4 separate regions of the Homo sapiens genome follow, and all the other regions are linked to region 1. The links are contacts of gene promoters, found by promoter capture Hi-C in human tissues and cell types (Jung and others, 2019). All regions are on one chromosome and are shown on one strand. The core of a region is centred on a gene start or on the middle of the fragment in contact, and the rest is flanking DNA. Distances in the headings are between cores, read along the strand shown. Region 1 holds the start of CCDC125 (coiled-coil domain containing 125). Region 2 has its middle 15 kb from the start of SLC30A5. Region 3 has its middle 21 kb from the start of SNORA50D. Region 4 overlaps SLC30A5 (solute carrier family 30 member 5).

Region 1 (2,750 bases), core at 90-2,589:
CCTCAGGAGATCTGCTCACCGGTCTCCCAAAGTGCTGGAATTACAGGCGTGAGCCACTGCGCCCAGCCGAAACTCCGTTTCAAAAAAATAAAAATAAAAATAATGTATCCAACTGAAGTGTCACCCTGTTTTCTACAACAAAGCTACAGTTTTCACCTCCAGTTTCATCTGGCAGTACTCCCTGGATGTACTCTGCGCTTCCACGTAAGAGGAACTGCACTTGCTCCCAGGGCTCCTCCCTCAGCTCAGCTTGGTCACCTGCAAGCCTCTATTGGTGCCATTCTTCACCCCAGGAATGCTGTTTCTTCTCAGAGCCCCCTCAGTTCAGGACAGCACTCCCTCCAGTAGCCTTCCTGACTCCCTTGGACCAGATGTGATTTCTTCCACATCTGAGTCTTCCCAGTTCTGGGAGGTTTTACTGAATCTTTTTAATAGTGCTTACTTCCTACCTGACCTAGACTGACTGTATATTCCCTTATGCAGAGACTTTGTGTGTCTCGTTTGCTTATGCACAACATGTGTTCCAAAGATATTTGACAGAATCGAAAGAGAAAACCGATTCCTGCCCGGAAACCTTTGGACAGAAGAATCTACATTCAGTAGCCTGACAACTCTGCCTTAGCAAACAAGTTGGTCAAACATGCCTAACTCCATGACAAAGAGGAACTAACTTGAGCCCTCCCTGGTGAACAATGGCCTGCTGCACTTTGCTTTAGGATTTTGTTTCTTAACTTTTCATTTTAGAATAATTTTAGATGTACAGTAAATTGCAAAGATAGTACTAAGAATTCCTGTGTACCTTTTACCCAAATTCCTCTAATGTCAACATTTGTGTACAATTTGTCGAAATTAAGAAATTAACATGGGTACGTGCTATTAACTAAACCACAGCCTTTATTATTTTTTCCACTAATGTCTTTTTCTGTTTCAGGATCCAAACCAGGATACTGGCGCTATAGTTTTATAAGGCTCAAAATTAACAGAAGAGAAAAAAAGTAAAGCAGGTGGAGAGGCAGAGAGAGAAATAGGGTCTCTGAAATCTATTTCTTATTTTTTTCTTATCAGACGAGGCCATTAAACTGGCATTCAGGGAAAAGGATTTGGGCAGTTTGTCCACAACCTGCAGAGTTTCCACGAATCTGCGCATCCCGCCCCTGCCCTGGGTCCTCCCCACTCCCGGTTCCCACCTGCCAGGTCTGACCCCGGGTACCCTCTCAAGGTCCGTGGCGGGGACCGGAGCCCGGACTCCAGCTCAGCGAACAGCACCCTCCTACCGCCCCGGCGCCCCACTCAGCTCGCTCACCTGGCAAGTAGCCTCCTCTCCGTGCGCGTGCGCCGCTGCCGCCGCGCGTCCTCCGGGCCACCACGTGACCGCGTGGGCGCAGTCCCAGACAGGAAACGCCGGTGAGGTCGCCCTGGGCCATGGAGGCAGCTCGCGCTACTTTTTCGCGACCTCACTGTGTTCCTGTGTGCAACCTGATGTTAGCTCTGTCCACCTTCAGCTCCAAAGCCAACCACGGGTAACCAATATGCAAACAATGACATGAGATTTAGAAAAACAACAAGACGGGGCCTGTGTCAATACAGGTAAAATTTGGTGGTTCAAACATTGAGGTTCAGACCGGCGCGGGGTTTCACACCTGTAATCCCAGCTTTTGGGAGGCCAAGGCGGGAGGATCGCTTGAGGCCAGGAATTCGAGACCAGCATGGCCAACATAGTGAGACCCCGCTCTACAAAAAATTTAAAAAGTAGGGCTGGGCGCGGTGGCTCACGCCTGTAATCCCAGCACTTTAGGTGGCCGAGGCGGGTGGATCACGAGGTCAGGAGATTGAGACCATCCTGGCTAACACAGTGAAAACCCTTCTCTACTAAAAATACAAGAAATTAGCCGGGCGTGGTGGCGGGTGCCTGTAGTCCCAGCTGCGCAGGAGGCTGAGGCAGAATGGCGTGAACCCGGGAGGCGGAGCTTGCAGTGAGCCAAGATCGTGCCACTGCACTCCAGCCTGGGCAACAGAACGAGTCTCCGTCTCAAAAAAAAAAAATAATTAAAAAGTAGCGGGTGTGGTGGTGCGTACCTGTAGTCCCAGCTACTCAGGAGGCCGGGAGGCCGTCAGGTGGGAGGATCCCGTGAGCCTGGGAGATCCAGGCTACAGTGACCACTGCACTCCAGCCTGGGCGACGGAGTGGAGACCCTGTCTCAAAAAAGAAACAAACCAAAACCAAAATATTAAGTCTCTAGGAATCCTGTAAGAGAAGGGTAGATCGGGCCAGGTGCGGTGGCTCACGCCTGTTAACCCAGCACTTTGGGAGGCCAAGGTGGGTGGATCACCTGAGGTCAGAAGTTTGAGACCAGCCTGGCCAACATGGTGAAACCCCATCTCCACTAAAATACAAAATTTAGCCGGTCGTCACACGTCCGGAGGCCGAGCCGTCGCGTACCTAGGATGCCGCGTGGAAGCCGAAGCCGCACCTCCCGCATGGCCCCTCCGGCCAGCCAGGCCCCCTCAGATGAGAGCTGCACCCAGGCCAGTACCAGTCGTTCAGCCACCAGCAGCGGCACCCCCATCTGTAGTTGGCTCTTCTGCTGCTGCGCCCCGGCAGCCAGGTCTGATGGCCCAGATGGCAACCACTGCAGCTGGCGTGGCTGTGGGCTCTGCTGTGGGTCACGCCATTACTGGGGCTTTCAGGGGAGGAAGTAATGCTGAGCCTGCGAGGCCTGACATCACTTACCAGGAGCCTCAGGGAACCC
Region 2 (2,801 bases), core at 253-2,752, 250 kb before region 1:
CCTGGCTAACATGGTGAAACCCCATCGCTACTAAAAATACAAAAAATTAGCCAGGCGTGGTGGCGGGCACCTGTAGTCGCAGCTACTCGGGAGGCTGAGGCAGGAGAATGGCGTGCACCCGGGAGGCGGAGCTTGCAGTGAGCCGAGATTGAGCCACTGCACTCCAGCCTGGATGACAGAGCGAGACTCCATCTCAAAAAAAAAAAAAAAAAGAAAGAAAGAGAATACATTAGGTAATATAATGAACACCCACTCAGTCTAAAATAAAACATTTCTAAACACAACAGACTCCCCTCCCTATCACATTCCCAGTACAATATCTTTAATTTAGCATTTGTCATTCTCTTTTATGTATTTATACTTTTACTACACAAGTATCTACTTCTTAACAAAAGATAATATTGTTTGGCATGATTTTTGACTTTACAGAAGTTGTATAATACTGTATATGTCCTTCCAAGCTTATTTTTCCCACTCAAGTTTTCTTTGGCGGGAAGGGGGTGTTTGTGTGTTTGCTTTCTGAAAATTCCTAAGTCTTATCACTCAAGTTTAATATTTATTTAGCTTAATACACATAATTTTAATTCACTCATTTTATCTGCTATATAGTGTTCCACGATATGAATATGTAATTTTTCATTGTGTATCATACTGATGAGCATTTTTTTTTTTTTTGAGACAGAGTCTCGCTCTGTCACCCAGGCTGGAGTGCAGTAGTGAGATCTCAGCTCACTGCAAGCTCCGCCTCCCGGGTTCACGCCATTCTCCTGCCTCAGCCTCCCAAGTAGCTGGGACTACAGGCACCTGCCACCACACCCAGCTAATTTTTTGCATTTTTAGTAGAGACGGAGTTTCACCATGTTAGCCTGGACGGTCTTGATCTCCTGACCTCGTGATCCTTCCGCCTCGGCCTCCCAAAGTGCTGGGATTACAGGCGTGAGCCACCACACCCAGCCTTGATGAGCATTTAAATTGTTACCCCATCTGTTCTATTACCATCAATGCCAAAATGAACCCCAAATCTGACTCCTTGTGTTGATATGCAAGTATTTCTCTAGGCCAGTGGCCCTCAAATTTTAGAAAGCATCAGAATCACCTGAGAGTTTTATTAAACAATAGACCGTTGAATCCCACCCCCAGAGTTTCTAATTCATTTCTAACAAGTCCTTAAGCGATGTTGATGCTGTTGGCCTGAAGAACGCACTTTAGAACAACTGCCCTAGGATGTTCATCCTGGAGTAAAATTGCTATCAAATAATTGTGCATCTTCAACTTTACTAAATGATGCCAAATTGCTCTGCAAAGGAATTTTAATGATGTGCTCTCCCAAAGAAGTCAGTTCCCTTTCTCATGTCTGAAACCACCTTTGCACAATTGTGACTGAGACAGTGAAAGAGATCTAACTTAATCGACTTCATCTTGCTTCTAACCTCCAAGCTGTCCTTGTTCATTCCTGGGCATAAGCTGAACAAACTTTGGGAGAAACTTAGTTTATAGTTTATAGTTTGGAACAAGGACGATAACAGCCCTTTCCCAAAGCAGACCTCCTTCTTGCCTGGGGACTAGACTACCTCTGTAAGACTAACATTAGCCACAAGATTAGACATTATGGTTTTGGAGTCATGCAGCTGGAGGCTACAAGATTCTAAGATTCTGACCCTCCCTAAACTGCTCCTAAGATCAGTACTTGAGATATTCTGCAGACCCTGCACTTGATGCATCAGCTGGCACCACCCAGATCAATAAACTGGCTCACCTGATCTTGTGGCCCCCACCCAGGAACTGACTCAGCTCCAGATGACAGCTTTGACTCCTTATGATTTCATCCTTGACCAATCAGCACTCCTGGCTTACTGGCTTCCCCCCACCAAGTTGTCCTTAAAAACTCTGCTCCTCAAATGCTCAGGAAGACAGATTTGAATTAATAATAAAACTCCAGTCTCTCGCACAACCAGTTCTGCCTAAATTACTCTTTCTCTATTGCAGTTGCCCTGTCTTGAGAAATCGGCTCTGTCTAGGCAGTGGGCAAGGTCCACACCACATTTGATGTCATAACACTTCAAAAGTGTTGCCAATCCAAAGAATACAGAATTGTATTTCACTGTGGTTTCCATTTGAAATTCCCTGTTACTAATAGGATTGAGCATCTTTTCATATGGCTGTAGCCATTCAGGCTAAATTATACTGTCTCTTATCTGTTCATTCCTTTGCCTATTTGCTATTAGGGTGTTTGACTTTAATTTATTTCAAAAGACAAAATTACAGGCTGGGCACAGTGGCTCAGGCCTGTAATCCTAGCACTTTGAGAGGCCGAGGCAGGTGGGTAACCTGAAGTCAGTTTGATACCAGGCTGGCCAACCTGGTGAAACCCCGTATCTACTAAAAATACAAAAATTAGCCGAGTGTGGTGGCAGGTGCCTATATTCCCAGCTACTTGGAAGGCTGAGGCAAGAGAATTGCTTGAACCTGGCAGGAGCAGAGGTTACAGTGAGCCGAGATCGCACTACTTCACTCCAGCCTGGGTGACAGAGTGAAACTCCGTCTCAGAACAAACCAAAAAAAAGACAAAATTACAACAAATTTAGTTTAAAAATCCAATTGGCTTTTATTTGTGATTGTAGAATCAGGCAACACCTCACTGTATGAAATAGAATGGGTGTTCTGGTAGACAGAGCAGAGGAGGTTGGCTTTGTAGGCCAAAAAGGGCCGAAGAAAACAGAAACAGAGACCAAAAGGTAAATTGGCCATTTCATAGTTACTTTCCTTCTAGGGTTAAAAACAGAGGGGACTGGCCGGGTGTG
Region 3 (2,847 bases), core at 92-2,591, 190 kb before region 1:
AATGGCCTTCAACTCCATCCATGTTGCTCAAAGGATATTATTCTTCTTTTTTATGGCTGCATAGTATTTCATGGTATATATGTACCACATTTTCTTTATTCAATCCACTGTTGATGGGCACCTAGATTGATTCCATGACTTTGCTATAGTAAACAGTGCTGCGATAAACGTATGAGTTCAGGTGTCTTCTTTTTTTAAGTTTTTTGTTTGTTGGTTTTTTTTTGAGACAGTCTCTCTCTGTCGCACAGGCTGTAATGCAGTGGCATGATCTCGGCTCACAGCAACCTCTGCCTCTCGGGTTCAAGAGATTCTCCTGCCTCAGCCTCCCAAGTAGCTGGAATTACAGGCACCATGCCTGGCTAATTTTTTTGTTTTGTTTTGTTTTGTTTTGTTTTTATTTTTAGTAGAGACGGGGTTTCACCATGTCGGTCAGGCTGGTCTCGAGCTCTTGACCTCAAATGATCTGCCCACCTCGCCCTCCCAAAGTGCTGGGATTACAGGCATGAGCCAGATGTCTTCTTTTTTCTTTTTTTTTTTTTTTTTGGAGACAGAGTCTCGTTCTGTAGCCCAGGCTGGAATGCAATAGCGCAATCTCAGCTCACTGCAAACTCTGCCTCCCAGGTTCAAGCGATTCTTTTGCCTCAGCCTTCCAAAGAACTGGGATTACAGGCGTGCACCACCATATCCAGCTAATTTTTTTATTTTTAGTAGAGACGAGGTTTCACCATGTTGGCCAGGCTAGTCTCGAACTCCTGACCTCAAGTGATCCACCCACCTCGGCCTCCCAAAGTGCTTGGATTATAGGCGTGAGCCACCTCGCCCAGCCAAGCCAGGCATCTTTTTGATAAAACAACTTCTGTTCCTTTGGGTAGACACCCAGTAGTAGGATTCCAGGGTAGAATGATAGTTTTATTTTTAGTTATTTGAGAAATCTCCATACTGTTTTCCACAGGATTTAACAAATTTACATTCCTATCAACAGTGTATAAGCATTCAATTTTCTCTGCATCCTTGCCAACAGCTGTTATTTTTTGACTTTTTAATAATAGCCATTCTGACCAGTGTGAGATAGTATCTCCATTTGGTTTTAATTTGCATTTCTCTGATGTAAATCATAACCTTTTGTAAAACCAATATTCAGTGTTTCCAACATTATGACTATAAATTGCCACAATGCCCTATGTAACATATTATGATTATATTTCCATTTTCCATATTAACTTCTAGTTTGTTCCAGGTTTAATATGGCCTTGTTTTTTTTGTTTGTTTGTTTGGTTTTGGTTTTTTGTTTGTTTTGTTTTGTTTTTTTTTGAGACAGAGTCTCACTCTGTTGCCAGGCTGGAGTGCAGTGGCGCGATCCCAGCTCACTGCAACCTCAGCCTCCTGGGTTCAAGCGATTATCCTGCCTCAGCCTCCTGAGTAGCTAGGAATACAGGCATGCACCACCACGCCCAGCTAATTTTTGTATTTTTAGTAGAGACAGCGTTTCACCATGTTGGCCAGGATGGTCTCGATCTCCTGACCTCGTGATCCGCCCACCTGGGCCTCCCAAAGTGCTGGGATTACAGGCGTGAGCCACCGCGCCCGGCCATGGCCTTGTTTTTTATCATTTGCCTAGTTTTATAAATTTCTTCTCAGCCTGTTCCAATACATCAGCTACCAATTTTATTTATTTATTTTTTGCTTGGCGACGTCCCTCTTAGAGCCTACCGTCCTTGTCATTCTACTTCAGCCTTCACTGATTGCTCTCTGGGTCTGTTGATGGACACTTACGTTGCTTCCAAATCTTGGTTATTGTAAATAGTGCTACAATAAACATGAGAGTGAAGATATCTCTTCAATATACTGACAGCCTTTCTTTTGGGTATATACCTAGCAGGGGAATTGCTGGATCATATGGGAGCTCTATTTTTAGTTTTTTGATGAACCTCCAAACTGTTCTCCATAGTGGTTGTACTAATTCACATTCACATCTACAGTGGACAAGGGTTCCCTTTTCTCCACATCCTCGCCAGTGTTTGTTATTGCCTGTCTTCTGGCTATAAGCCTTTTTTTTCTTTTCTTTTCTTTTCTTTTCTTTTTGAGACAGGGTCTCGCTCTGTCACCCAAGCTGGAGTGCAGTGGCATGATCTGAACTCACTGCAGCCACTGCCTCCTGGGTTCCAGCAATTCTCCTGCCTCAGCCTCTCAAGTAGCTGGGATTACAGGTGCGTGCCACCACGCCTGGCTAATTTTTGTATTACTAGTAGAGACAGGGTTTTGACATGTTGGCCAGACTGGTCTCGATCTCCTCAACACAAGTGATCCGCCTGCCTCAGCCTTCCCAAGTGCTGGGATTACAGGCATGAGTCTGGCCAATAGAAGCCATTTTAACTGAAGTGAGATGATATCTCATTGCAGTTTTGATTTGCATTTCTCTGATGCTCAATGCTGTTGAGCTCCTTTCCTAAATGTGTTTGCCATTTGTATGTCTTTTGAGAAATGTCTATTCAGCTCTTTTGCCCATTTTTAAATCGGATTATTAGATTTTTTACTATAGAGTTGTTTGAGCTCCTTACATATTCTGGTTATTAATCCTTTGTCAAATGGATAGTTTGCAAATATTTTCTCCCATTCTGTGGGTTTCTCTTCACTTTGTTGATTGTTTCTTTTGCTCGGCAGAAGCTTTTTAACTTGATGTAATCCTACTTGTACATTTTGGCTTTGGCTGCCTGTGTTTGTGGTATGTTACTCAAGAACTCTGCCCAGTCCAATGATCCTAGAGAGTTTCCCCAGTGTGTTCTTTTAGTAGTTTCACAGTTTAGAAGTCTTAGATTTAAATCCTTAATACATTTTTATTTGATTTCA
Region 4 (2,700 bases), core at 64-2,563, 230 kb before region 1:
ATTTCATATTTCCCTAGATCTATATAGATTAGTCTTTTTCTGCAAGTGGACTGGTTTAAGGAGGAAATGCTTAGGGACCATTGATAGGAATTGTATCATGCAGCTGTGTATGAGCATTCTTTTAACATTTCCCCATCTGTAAAGGATTTTACTTAGTGAATAAGTGTAAGAAAAAATGCCTTGCCGTGAGAATGAGAGGTAAGGAGTGAAATGAAGAATGTTCTTGGCCAGCACTGTGGCTCACGCCTGTAATGCTAGCACTTTGGGAGGCCAAGGGGTGGATCATTTGAAGTTACGAGTTGGAGACCACCCTAGCCAACATAGCAAAACCCCGCCTTTATTAAAAAATATACAAAAATTAGCCAGAAATCACTTGAACTCAGGAGGCGAAGGTTGCAGTGAGCCGAGATCACGCCACTGCACTGCAGGCTGGGCAACAGAGCGAGACTCCGTCTCAAAAAAAAAAAGAATGTTCTAAAGCAGAGAGATCCCCCACCCCCTGGCTATAGACCAGTATGGGTTCATAACTCATTAGGAACCAGGCCACAGAGCAGGAGGTGAGCCACGGGGGAGCAAGCATTACTGCGTGAGCTCTACCTCCTGTCAGATCAGCAATGGCATTAGATTCTCATGGGAGCAGGAACCCTGTTGTGAACTGTGCATGGGAGGGATATCTAGGTTGCATGCTCCTTATGAGAATCTAATGTCTGATGATCTGAGGTGGAACAGTTATGTCCTAAAACATCCCCCCACCACTGCTGTCTGGAAAAATTGTCTTCCAGGAAACCAGACCCTGGTGCCAAAAAGGTTGGGGACCACTGTTCTAAAGGATCTCACTCAGAATAGTGGGGTAGACAGAGTGGAAAGTGAAGGGTGAGAAATGTGGAAATGCTTTGTGAAAAGTCCTTTCCCCTCTCATGGCCAATAGAATAGCTTCTGGATTGGGATCCCTTTGACTTGTTTGTCATGTACTTTGTCAGATGCAGAGTAGGTATAATTGGAAATGTCATATCTCTAGCCACAGTAGCAGCTGCAGCTTGGAGGGCTGAGAAAGCTAGCTGAATTTCCTAGCTTGGGAAGAGGTTTTTCACCGTATGCTTGAATATGATTGAGTGCTGCTATTGCTTATCATCTGTAATATTTTAAATTTGTTATTCATGAAATTATGTTTTGGTTCCTGTGTTACTATATCACTGTCCTTTTGTGTTACAATAAGGAGGGAAAGAGGAAGTACTTACATCTTTACTTGGTTCCCTATTTAGTCATCTAGCTCCTGACCTTATCACTACCAACACTGCCCTCTCATTCTTCTACTAAAACCATTATGCAGTTTCTCAATTGCAAAAATTTTAATCCCAGCACTTTGGGAAGCCGAGGTGGGCAGATAGCTTGAGCCCAGAAGTTCGAGACCAGCCTGGACAACATGGCAAAATCCCATCTCTACAAAAAATTAGCCAGGCATGGTGCTGCGTGCCTGTAATCCCAGCTACCTAGAAGGCTGAGGTGGAAGAGATCACCTGACCTCAGGAGGTAGAAGCTTAACCTTAGCATACTTTACTCTTTTGTAAAAACAGCTTAAAACATAAACACATTGTACAACTGTACAAAAATATTTTTTCTTTATATCCTTATTCTGTAAGCTTTTTTTCTGTTTTTAATTTTTTTTCAACTTTTTTTTTTTGGAGACAGGATCTTGCTCTGTCATTCAGACTAGAGTATATGGCACAGTCTTGGCTCACTGCAACCTCCATCTCCTTGGCTCAAGGGATCCTCCCACCTCAGCCTCACCAGTAGCTGGGACTACAGGTGCCTACCACCACACCTGGCTAACTTTTGTATCTTTTTTGATAGCAGGTTTTGCCATGTGGCCCAGGCTGGTCTCAAACTCCTGGGCTCAAGGATCCACCCTTCTCACCCTCCCAAAGTGCTGGGATTACAGGCATGAGCCACTGCTCCTGGCACTTTTTTGTTAAAAACTAAGACATGCACACATTAGCCTATACCTACACAGGGTCAGGATTATCAATATTACTGTCTTCTACCTCCACATCTTGTCCCACTAGAAAGTTTTCAGGGGCAGTAACATGCAAGGAATTGTCATCTCCTATAACAATGCCTTCTTCTGGGGTACCTCCTGAAGGACCTGTCTGAAGCTATTTTACAGTTAACTTTTTTTTTGTTTTTGACACCACTATTTGAAGTCAAAGGATATAGTTACTTTTATTTTTAACAAGCAAAAGTACATTCTAAAATAATTTATAGTATAGTAAATACATAAACCAGTAGCATAGTCATTTATTATCATTATCAAGTCTTATGTTCTGTATATAATTGTATGTACTGTATTATATGACTGGCAGTGCAGTAGGCTTGTTTACACCAGCATCACCAGAAACACATGAGTAATGCATTAACACTAGGTGACTGGAATTTCTCAGCTCCATTATAATCTTATGGCACCACCATCGTATATATGTGGTCTACCATTGACCAAAATAATGTTATGCAGCACATGGGTATATGTTGCCTGTACTTTTTTTTTTTTTTTTTGAGATGGAGTCTCACTGTGTCACCAGGCTGGCATGCAGTGGCCCGATCTTGGCTTACTGCAACCTCCACCTCCCGAGTTCAAGTGATTCTCCTGCCTCAGCCTCCCGAGTAGCTGGGATTACAGGCATGTGCCACCACGCCCAGCCAATT

What was found. The method cuts DNA at HindIII sites, captures the fragments that hold promoters and counts their contacts. A contact is called where the count stands out against the background at its distance.
Region 2: a fragment that was not itself captured here is called in contact with the fragment with the promoter of CCDC125 in region 1 in 1 of the 25 tissues and cell types used here (spleen).
Region 3: a contact is called between a fragment that was not itself captured here and the fragment with the promoter of CCDC125 in region 1, in 2 of the 25 tissues and cell types used here (aorta and heart right ventricle).
Region 4: a fragment that was not itself captured here is called in contact with the fragment with the promoter of CCDC125 in region 1 in 4 of the 25 tissues and cell types used here (H1 embryonic stem cells, aorta, liver and 1 more).

Annotation. Positions count from the first base shown.
Region 1 is chr5:69,331,462-69,334,211 of GRCh38, forward strand. CCDC125 (coiled-coil domain containing 125) reads right to left here and starts at 1,340. Exons shown (of 12, transcript NM_176816.5): 1 at 1,188-1,340. It also overlaps the pseudogene CHCHD2P2. The HindIII fragment of the contact is 34,363 bases long and covers 1-2,750 here.
Region 2 is chr5:69,077,317-69,080,117 of GRCh38, forward strand. No RefSeq gene overlaps it. Among named protein-coding and RNA genes, the nearest start is that of SLC30A5, 15 kb to the right of the region's middle. The HindIII fragment of the contact is 8,551 bases long and covers 1-2,801 here.
Region 3 is chr5:69,137,957-69,140,803 of GRCh38, forward strand. No RefSeq gene overlaps it. Among named protein-coding and RNA genes, the nearest start is that of SNORA50D, 21 kb to the right of the region's middle. The HindIII fragment of the contact is 6,104 bases long and covers 1-2,847 here.
Region 4 is chr5:69,105,202-69,107,901 of GRCh38, forward strand. The region is part of intron 4 of SLC30A5 (solute carrier family 30 member 5); the gene reads left to right. Among named protein-coding and RNA genes, the nearest start is that of SLC30A5, 13 kb to the left of the region's middle. The HindIII fragment of the contact is 3,959 bases long and covers 1-2,700 here.